Regions from separate parts of the Homo sapiens genome. Here all the other regions are linked to region 1. Evidence: promoter capture Hi-C in 16 types of primary human blood cells and fetal thymus (Javierre and others, 2016). All regions are on one chromosome and are shown on one strand. Each heading gives the region's core, a stretch centred on a gene start or on the middle of the fragment in contact. The rest is flanking DNA. Distances are from core to core; before and after follow the strand shown.

Region 1 (2,507 bases), core at 5-2,504:
AGATGGTTCCTAATTTAGGACGGTGTCACTTAGAATTCTTCGACTTTTAAGAAAGCCATGAGCATTCAGTAGAAACTGTACAAGTAACCACACAACCGTCTGTGTTCATGATTTTGCCCAACTGTAGATTAAGGTAAGTGTTCTGAGCATGTTTAAGGTAGGCTAGCGCAGCCATAAAAAGGAATGAAATCATGTCCTTTGCAGCAACATGGGTGCAGCTGGAGGCTATTATCCAAAGCGAATTAAAGCAGAAACAGAAAATCAAATATTGCATGTTCTCACTTATAAATGGGAGCTAAACATTGGGCATTCATGAACATAAAGATGGCAACAATAGACAGTGGAGACAACTAGAAGGGAGAGGAAAGGAGGAGCAAGGGTTCAAAAACTATTGGGTAACATGCTCACTACCTGGGTGACAGGATCAATCGTATCCAAACCTCAGCACCACGTAATATACCGATGCAACAAACCTGCACATGTACCCCCAAATCTAAAATAAACAGCTGAAAATAATTTTTTTGATAACAAAAGTAGGCTAGGCCAAGCTTTAATACTCAGTAGGTTAGCTGTGTTTTAAATCCATTTTCCATTTGGGATATTTTCAACCCCGTAGTAAGTCGAGAAGCATCTGTTCCTACCTAGAAAATCTTCCATAAGGTAATCGATTAAAAGGTTTTAAGGAAATACAAGAAAAACCTGACCAGTGAAGAGGTAAAAGCCCCTAAAGAAGGCGTACCGACACTCTCCAGGACGCTCGCAGAGCCTTCACCCCCTGGCCCTGGGGAAGGAAATTCCCAGTGCAGGAGTGAGGGAGAGACCCAAAAGCCAAGAGGAGCCTGCGCAAAGCGACCGCAGTGGCGGCCCCAGGGGCCACTGCCCAGAACCATCCCTCCCACACAAACGCACAACCCTAAACCCCCACCGCCCGCCCTTCGCTCCAAGGCCCCCGGGGCCAGCAACCAGGGCGTCCCTGGCACTTCAGACCAAAGCTGCAGGCCCGCAGAAGGCCACTTCGGTCGCTCCTGCCGCCTTCCCTCCCTCCTCCCTCGTTGGCCTGCTCCGGCGCCACTCCCTGCTTTGTCCCGCACGAGCCTACAGGCTGTCGCAGCCTCCCGAGCTTCCCCCTGCAGGACGCACCGGCGAAAATCTGACAGAAACCACTGGCCCTGCAAAGAAGTCCTTCTGGTAACCAGCTATCCCCTCGCCGCCGGAGAAGCTCAAGGATCCCGCCTCGGCGAAGCCAATCGCGGACGAGCCCGCCGCGCGTGCGCACTACCTAGCCGCTGCACTGCCCTGTCCTGCCCTACTCTGATTGGACGACCCTACTGCATCACTGCGCATGTATCTTTGCGTTTGGCTTTAAATGCTTCCAAGTTTGATTCAAGTTTACGGTTCAATTAAAAAAATACTGGTTTAGTGCCTACTTTCAGACACAGTGTAGATGCCGAGGCTACAGACCTCACCATCTGCGTGGATAAGTAATAAATACGGTATGATTCGGTGTGTGCGATAATAGAAATGCGTGCATCGCAGAAGTATACGATATCCTATTGGTTATTCATTCATCCGAAAAAACATTGACTTAGCGGTGCCTGCAGGATAATTTTCAAACTCTTTGTTAGGTTCTGGGAATATAGAAACGAATACGTGATTATTAGGCTCTCAGAAAAGGGGAGCCGCCTCCGGACTTGGAAAAGCATTAAAGCATGTTAAGTAGGAAAGTTACATCATTCAATGAGTATTTACTGAGCACCTTCTAAGTGCTAGGCGGTAACACAGTCAACTATCCCTGAAAAATGGTATTAGAAAGGCTAATCTGAAAGGAGAGAGAATGGCTAAAGGTTGTTTATTGAGTTTTATCCAGCAGTTTGACAAAAAGTAAAAGCTAAAAAATATCAAGGGTGAAATGAAGATGTGAAACAATGGGAACTCTTGGGCTGCTGGTAGGAGTGTAAATAGGTACAGCCATTTAAAAGAGTAATTTGAGGCTGAGAGCGGTGGCTTGTGCCTGTAATCCCAGTACTTTGGGAGGCCGAGGCGGGCGGATCACTTGAGGTCAGGAGTTCGAGACCAGCCTGGCCAACATGGTGAAACCCGGTCTGTACTAAAAATACAAAAATTAGCTGGTTTTGGTGGAGCGCGCCTGTAATCCCAGCTACTCAGCAGACTAAGGCGGGAGAATCGCTTGAACCTGGGAGGTGAAGGCTGCAATGAACCGAGATGGTGCCGCAGCACTCCAGCCTGGGCAGCAGAGAGACCCTGTTTCAAAAAAAAAGAGTAATGTGCTTAAGGAGCTTTTATCCTGGGGACTTTTTCCAGTCATAAAGAGCACCTCATAGGTTGAGTTGTGCTTTTGGCAGCTCCTGGAGCCAGCGTTACAAGAATTTGAAATGGGGACCTGCCAAGGTTGGGCACCTTAGTAAACCGCACCCCCCTCTTCTTTGGACTGGGACACATAAAGAGTAAGGGTAACCAGAAAACAAGCTAGCTTCATAGTGTCTGCA
Region 2 (2,507 bases), core at 3-2,502, 800 kb after region 1:
TTGTTAACCACTTGACTATGACTATCTCCACAGTCATATCTTTCTAGGCCTCCATTTCTAGGCCCTTGGGTATAAGTGCCAGCCTGGATCAGATTAAGCTTGCCTTTAAATACTGTGATGTAGTCTGATGGACAAATAAGCCCAAGCTCAGGTCAGTTCTTTTAGCTTGAGCCATACTGGAATGGCTTCCATCTCCTTGTCATCCTGGTATCGAGGTCTCTGCATGCCTCTTGGCAATGATGTGTTGGCTATAGTATCATCATGTGTATAACATATTTTTTTGCATACCTACCTTATTCTGAGCTCTTTATAGAACTTATTTTACTTAATCACTGTAGATCAGGAAACAGGGACAGAGAAAGGCATAGTGGCTCATGCCTGTAATCCCAGCACTTTGGGAGGCTGAGGCTGCCAGATCACTTGAGCTCAGGAGTTGGAAACCAGTCCGAGCAACACGGTGAAACTCTGTCTCTACTAAAAAAATACAAAAATTGCTGGGTGTGGTGGCGTGTACCTGTGGTCCCAGCTACTAGGAAGGCCGAGGTGGGAGGATCACTTGAATCCAGGAGATTGAGGTTGCAGTGCGCCAAGATTGCGCCACTACACTCCAGCCTGGGTGACAGAGCAAGACCCTATCTCAAAAAAAAAAAAAAAAAAAAGGAAGTAAGGACAGAGAGGTAAAGTTATTAGTCCAAGGTCATATAACCTGGGTCTAACTGTAAAATTCATGTTCATTTTACCATGCTGTACTATATTTTACATGCTTTATTATCTATCTTATTGTTGTCTCTCCTTCTCATTAAAACAAAACAAAACTGAGACTAGGAGAGGAATAAGCTTTATTTGATTTTCTAATTACTTGTGAGGACTTGGCAGACAAATTTTCTCAACCAGACAACTTAATTCTTAAATTTTTGTTTGGGGGATCTTTCCAGTTCAAGGTCTGTTATTGCATATAAGTTTGTAATCCTCTTGCCAGTTTCATTATTCTACATTTATTGCCATGTTTTGTGTAACATGTGTCTGTATACTGTTAACATTTTCCAGTAACCATCCTACATACACAGAAAAGAGACATGAGTGTAAAGGAAAAGGCCAGCAAGTTCAGTCAGCCAGGAAAAGTTTATAAGTCTGTATTTCAAGGAAGGAGTCATGTGCTGAATTTGCACACTGGCCTGTGACTGAAATCCAGATCAATATCCATGCTCTAAGTACAGTATGACTAAAACTCTTAGAACCGAAAGCTATTTAAGTCCCTTGGTCTTTCTAGCGTAAGTTAGGAAATGTTTCCTCCTCTTCAATATTTTGGAAAGGTTTGAGCAGAATTGGTATTAGTTTGCCTTTAAATGTTTGGTAGAATTCACAAGTGAAGCCCTCAAGTGCAGGGCTTTTCTTTGTCAGGAGATTTTGGATTACTGATTCAATCTCCTTACTACTTATAGGTCTGTTCGGATTTTCTATTTCTTCATGATCTTGTCTTGGTAGGTTTTGTGTTTCTAGGAATTTTTCCATTTCTTCTAGGCTATTCAATTTGTTGGCATATAATTGTTCATAGTGCTCTCTTATAATCCTTTTTATTTCTGTAGAATCGGTAGTAATGTCCCCACTTTTATTTCTGATTTTAGTAATTTGAATCTTCTGTCTTTTCTTTCTTGTTCTGTCTAGCTAAAGCTTTGTCAATCTTGTCTGTCTTTTCAAAAAGCTAACTTCACATTTTATTGATTTTCTCTTGATTTTCTATTCTCTATTTCACTTATCTTTGCTCCAATCTTTATTATTTCCTTCCTTTTGCTAGTTTTGGGTTTAGTTTTCTCTTCTTTTTCTAGTTCATTAAGTTGAAACTTAGGTTGTAGATTTGAGATCTTTCTTGTTTTTTACTGCAGGTGTTTACAGCCATATATGTCTCCCCTAGCACTTCTTTCACTGTGTTATATGTTTTGGTATGTTGTTTTCATTTTCATTAGTCTCTAAGTATTTTCTAATTTCCCTTGTGATTTGTTTTTTGATCCATTGGTTGGTTGTTTAAGAGTGTGTTGTTTGATTTCCAAAAATTTGTGAAATTTTCAGTTACTTCGGTATTGATTTCTAACTTTATTCTATTATGGTTGAAGGAGATACTTTGAATAATATCTATCTTTTAAAATCTATTGAGACTTAATTTGTAGCCTAACATATGGCCAATCCTAGAAAATGTCCTATATGTACTTGAGAAGAATGTGGATGCTGTCAATGGGTAGAGTGTTCTGTATATGTCTATGAAATCTATTATTAGTTGGTTTATTGTGTTTTTTAAGTCTTATATTTCCTTATTTATATTTTGTATAGTTGTTTGATCCACAATTGAAAGTGGGGCATTGAAGTGCCCAACTATTCTTGTAGAGCTATCTATTTCTCCCTTCAGTTCTGTTGGTTTTTGCCTCATATATTTTGATGGTCTTTTATTAGGTGTGTAAATGTTTATATTGTTATCTGTTCTTACAGTTTTTAACTTTTTATTAACATATAAT
Region 3 (2,507 bases), core at 3-2,502, 790 kb after region 1:
GACTCATTTTTAAAGGCTGTGAATGTGCGTCATATGAATTAAAATTAACCAAGCTCCTGTGTAACTTCAGGAATATTAATTTTGATCAAATGGAATGGCATCAACCAATAAATGTGCAAGGAAAATGTAGAACTACCTAGTCACAACCATACAGTAGTTCCTATATGGTTACATAGTATCATCATCATTAGCAAGCATTTATTAAGTGTTAACTGGTATATGGTACCAAACAACATAAACCAACCACACACTAGGACCACCGCCAAGGAGAGGAAGTGAGATGGAGAAAAGGCAATTTAAACTATGCAGAGACATGCCTTCATTTTACATAGTGGGTGAGGAAATTTAATAGAGGCGAAAATATTGTTTTACTATGTCTCTCAACTCTTATTTGATGTTAAGCAGAAATGGAAAAAATTTTGGTACATGTTTGAAAAATAATAATATGCACGAATCTTTCTGTTTGGGGAGCATGTTTCATGTGCCATCCAGACTCAGGCTTATGACTCTAAGCTGGCACACTCTGAGGTTTGTTGTTGGTTCCTGGGCTTTCTTGTGTGGGTCTGGGAACAGTTCAGAAATGCGACAGAATGGGAGAGCAGGAGGTGCGGTAAGGGAGTAGTATTGTCAGGGCATAATATAGCCTCTAATGACAACGTTGGCATAGACTATCTGTTTATCTATGTTTCTTTTGTTAATACATGTTTTTTTTTCCCAATAAATGTTTTACTTAGACCTGCTGTCTCCTTTGAAGGTTGGAAAACTGGACATAATACATAACTAAAAAAGGAAAAGATCATGATTAAAAATTTACTTCTTCATGATTATAAGAGCTACTTTTATTTCAAATTAGTATATCTTAAAGCCAAACCAGAGAAGTACTTATCTTCTTCTGAAACACCTTAACTGAAAAGATAGCGCCTCATATACAGATATGCACCCTATTGGTACTTAATAAACAATGAATTGCTCAGATGATTAATGAAGAGCAACAAAATGATGTAATTTTTTTCTACCATTAATTAGTACTACTAATTGGCATTACTATTCAGTGCTTATGCACTTACTCAGTATTTAGGAAGTATTCTATTTGCAGGGTACAGGTGACCCTTGAACAACATGCGTTTCAACTGCACAAGTCCACTTATATGTGGAATTTTTCCAACCAAACAAGGATCAAAAATACAGTATTTGTGGCATGCGAAACCCCACGTACAGAGGGCCAACTTTTCATAAGGTGGGTTCTGTAAGGCTGACTGTGGAACTTGAGTATGTATGGATTTTGGTATATGTGGGGGTCCTGGAACCAATCCCTTGAGTATACCAAGGAATGACTGTATTTAATATTGCTATTGTGTTTACATATTATTCAACTTGGCATGTGCTTATTAATTTACTTCAGGTGAATTGAAAAAGTTTAATTTTCTAAAATCTATACTAGTCACTTGATTTTTAGTCTGGGTGACAAAAATGTAAGTGGTCCCTATCCATATTCTTACCACAACCATTACCTAGGTATTTTCAGTCCACTGTTTTGCTTTTATCTTCCCTATCCTTTAAAAAACAAAACCCTGGTACTATAGTTATTTCTTAAATTTTTTTGTGATCTTTGTAAATTAGACTTCTATTTTTGTATCTTTCTTTTAAATCTAACAGATAATGCTTGACACACACCATACTGATAAAAATTAAAATACATAAATTCTCATATACTGCCCAGTATGAAAAATGTTAAGTGATAAAGTCACTTTGGAAAACAATTTGGCAATGGGTAGAAAAGTTGAAGATGAGCACACCTTATGACCTAGGAATTCCTCTTCTAGCTTTATACACCCTAGAGAAACTTCCGTATATGGGTAAAAGAAGCCATGTAAAGATATCTAATGAAGGCGTAATCACTGGTTTTCCCTGTGTACATGTCAAAATTTGTATGCCTTTTCTCCGATTAAAAAAAAGGTATCTGATGAAGCACTATTTGTAATAGCAAACAACTGAGCACAATCTAAATGTCCATCATCAGGGAAGTGGATAAACTGTGGCAGAGTTATACAATGGACTACTGTACACAGTTAGAATTGTTTATGGTTATGTACATATGTAATGAAAGTATAAATGTATGGATGGAAAGGATAAATGGTTATCTTTGGGAAGGAAGGCAATAGAATAGGATTTAGAGAGGTCTTAAACTATATCTTTAATTTGTACTTCTTTTTAAAAAAAAAGGTCCAGTAAAGCAAATGTGGCAAAACATTAATATATGTTTAATATGGGTGGCTGTCATGGTATGTTCAGTATATAGGTTGCTGTTATATTACTTTCTGAACTTTTTATGCAGCTAAAATAGACATACAAACATTTAAAAAACTGAAATATTAACAATTTAGTCATTGCTTCATGGGATAAGAGCAATGGCATTGCATGTGAGGTGCTAAGCACATTCCTACAATGAAAGCTGTTTGTTTTTGGCCTTTTAGAAAAGTGTCCTTAGATACTACAAATAAATACAA
Region 4 (2,507 bases), core at 5-2,504, 560 kb before region 1:
AAGAATAACTTGCAAATTTGACACTGCTCTGTTTTACCAACAGTTGTACCTGGATGCTGTTCTTATTGCCTGATCAAGAGCCTTCTACACTAATTTAACAAGCTTGTCAGCAAAAGTTATGATGTAGAGTGTTTTCTTGTTGTTGAATCAGTGGATAATCTGAAGGATATTAAGAGTTTTTCATTGCTTACTTATTTATGAAAGCATTTGAAAGTACTTTGACTCCCAAGGGTATCTGATCTGATGGAGAGAATGTATCACTTGTACCGATGCGGATAGAACGCTCATTAATTACAGCACAGTTTTCATAAATTCCAACTTCCCTAGGAATTTTGTCTTTTGAAGGCATGTTGGAAGTTGGGGCATTAGGATATAATCTCAGTCCATGTACTAAGCCTCTGCATAACTGAAAGATAGAGTCAATAAAATTCACTCTCTCATTTTTTGTTTTTAATCTCAAGAATTTTTGCCTTGAAGGAAAAATGTAGTGGAGAATTTGATGTTTGAACGTAAGTATTGTTAAAAGCACCTGCTGTGTCAATCATTGCTTTTTGTCACTAGATTTCATTCATTTTGCAGTCAATTACAAAAGTAGAAAAGATGTCATACCAAGCCGGGTGCAGTGGCTCATGCCTGTAATCCCAGCACTTTGGGAGGCTGAGGCGGGTGGATGGCCTGAGGTCAGGAGTTCGAGACCAACCTGACCAACATGGTGAAACCCCATCTCTACTGAAAATACAGAATTAGCCGGGCAGGAGAATCGCTTGAACCAGGGAGGCGGAGGTTGCGATGAGCTGAGATCACGCCATTGCACTTCAGCCTGGGCAACAAGAGCAAAATTCCTCCCCCCGCTGCCCTCCCTCCCCCCCCCCGGCAAAAAAATGTCGAAGCAAAGGAATTTAAGGAAAGTGCAGGTTTCCAGGACTTGTTATTCCTTAATTAAACAATCAAACCCTGTTATGCATCTATCAACCCTCCCTCCCCCCCACACAAATAGTATTTTGAGTCAGTTTACGTTCCATACAGGCACATTTTCATTGTTTTTTTCTGTAAGATTCTTAAGTTTTAAAGAAAGAGCAAATGCAGTCATAAAATTATGAAGAAAAATTCATTAAGATTACATTAGTTTACATTTTTAATGATAGAAAACCTTTATTCAAAGCACAAAATGAGTTGATATGCTTTCTGCACGCAAACCTAAAAAGAGATATGGTTTAAGTATGGAAGCCACTGTCATGTGGCCCAACATTTGAGCACATCTTCTGGCTCAGTCATGTACACTTAACCTCTGGATGACTTTCAGGTATTCAGTTTGAATTTCTTTTATTTAAATGGTTACTCCTGATGGATTCCCGTTTTTCTGGAATTTCTGTTTTTCATTAGTGCATTTCAGAATGCTTTTTTAGTTACGGATTCTTATTTCCAAAATTTTAGCCATTACTTTCTATTGCCTGATCTTGTCTTCATTTTCGTAAACAAATCCCTTCTTAGATAGTGCAGTTAAAATGATGGTACTTTCTACTACTTGCAGAAGAGAATCTGTGTGGCTGGCTTATGCAGTGCTTATTACAGAAACAAACAAGAATCAGTGATTATTCAGTGTTTAGTTTTCTTTGCTTCCCTCTACCCCAATTTATTACTTTTTCTCAAATTATTCTTCAAAAAAGGTACATGAAAATAATATATGGCTGACACATGCTATGATATTTGTTTAGCCGTGGGAAGGAATAGTTGCTATTAACTCAGATGGTTTTATTTTCTGTGTTCCTTTTTGTTTATTGCATTTGTTTATTTAAAGTATTTCCAAAGTGTTTCTTTATAGTACAAATGACTATTTTGAAGCAGTATCTCAAGAATTCAGGGAAAATATATGTTATTGAGGAAGAAGAGGGATTTTTTTTCTTGCCCAAATTATCTAGATTAATGATATATTCATTAAATTTCCCAAATAAATGCCCAGAAATTATTTTCAGCGCACATAGTGAGTGATAGGATTTTTTTTAAGTTTGTAATTATATTGCTGTACCTTTTCAATCCAAACCTTAGACTATTATTTGACTATACTGCTTCCCTGGAGCAAGTAAATACCTTTTTTTTTTTTTTTTAATGTGAGAGAAAACATTTTTGGTCTTTTAAAATTTATTTTTAATTTACAATTGACACATAATATTATATATTTATGGGGTACAATGTGATGTTTCAGTGCATGTATATATTGGTAGACATTGTGTAATGATCAAATCAGAGTGATTACCATATCCAAGAAAACATTTTTCTAGGGGTTAATTCTACTTTGGATCCATAGTAGATGAAAATACTTCTATGGGTTTTCCTTATAGCTGCTAAGCAGGGAACATTGTTAGTAGGTAAATTAAGTTCTAGGACTGAAACCATTTATGTTACTAACAAAGCTTTAGAGCTACTGCAATACTTAAACTTTTTTTTTTTTTTTAATCATGAAGGGCACGGTAGAATTCAACAGTGAATAAATGAAACCTGAATTTTAT

What was found. Contacts are between HindIII fragments. The CHiCAGO score rates a contact against its expected background, and 5 or more counts as called.
Region 2: a fragment that was not itself captured here is called in contact with the fragment with the promoter of RAD54B in region 1 in 1 of 17 cell types (monocytes); the score reaches 5.3 in monocytes.
Region 3: a contact is called between a fragment that was not itself captured here and the fragment with the promoter of RAD54B in region 1, in 1 of 17 cell types (monocytes). The highest score is 7.1, in monocytes.
Region 4: a contact is called between a fragment that was not itself captured here and the fragment with the promoter of RAD54B in region 1, in 3 of 17 cell types (activated CD4 T cells, fetal thymus and total CD4 T cells). The highest score is 5.9, in activated CD4 T cells.

Annotation. Positions count from the first base shown.
Region 1 is chr8:94,473,861-94,476,367 of GRCh38, forward strand. RAD54B (RAD54 homolog B) reads right to left here and starts at 1,255. Exons shown (of 15, transcript NM_012415.3): 1 at 1,141-1,255. RefSeq lists an enhancer at 988-1,217. The HindIII fragment of the contact is 4,488 bases long and covers 547-2,507 here.
Region 2 is chr8:95,277,560-95,280,066 of GRCh38, forward strand. All of the region lies in intron 1 of CFAP418-AS1 (CFAP418 antisense RNA 1), which reads left to right. Among named protein-coding and RNA genes, the nearest start is that of TRS-AGA2-5, 9.1 kb to the left of the region's middle. The HindIII fragment of the contact is 834 bases long and covers 836-1,669 here.
Region 3 is chr8:95,260,912-95,263,418 of GRCh38, forward strand. All of the region lies in intron 2 of CFAP418 (cilia and flagella associated protein 418), which reads right to left. Among named protein-coding and RNA genes, the nearest start is that of CFAP418-AS1, 6.7 kb to the right of the region's middle. The HindIII fragment of the contact is 7,469 bases long and covers 1-2,507 here.
Region 4 is chr8:93,918,635-93,921,141 of GRCh38, forward strand. The region is part of intron 1 of PDP1 (pyruvate dehydrogenase phosphatase catalytic subunit 1); the gene reads left to right. Among named protein-coding and RNA genes, the nearest start is that of PDP1, 3.0 kb to the left of the region's middle. The HindIII fragment of the contact is 2,309 bases long and covers 101-2,409 here.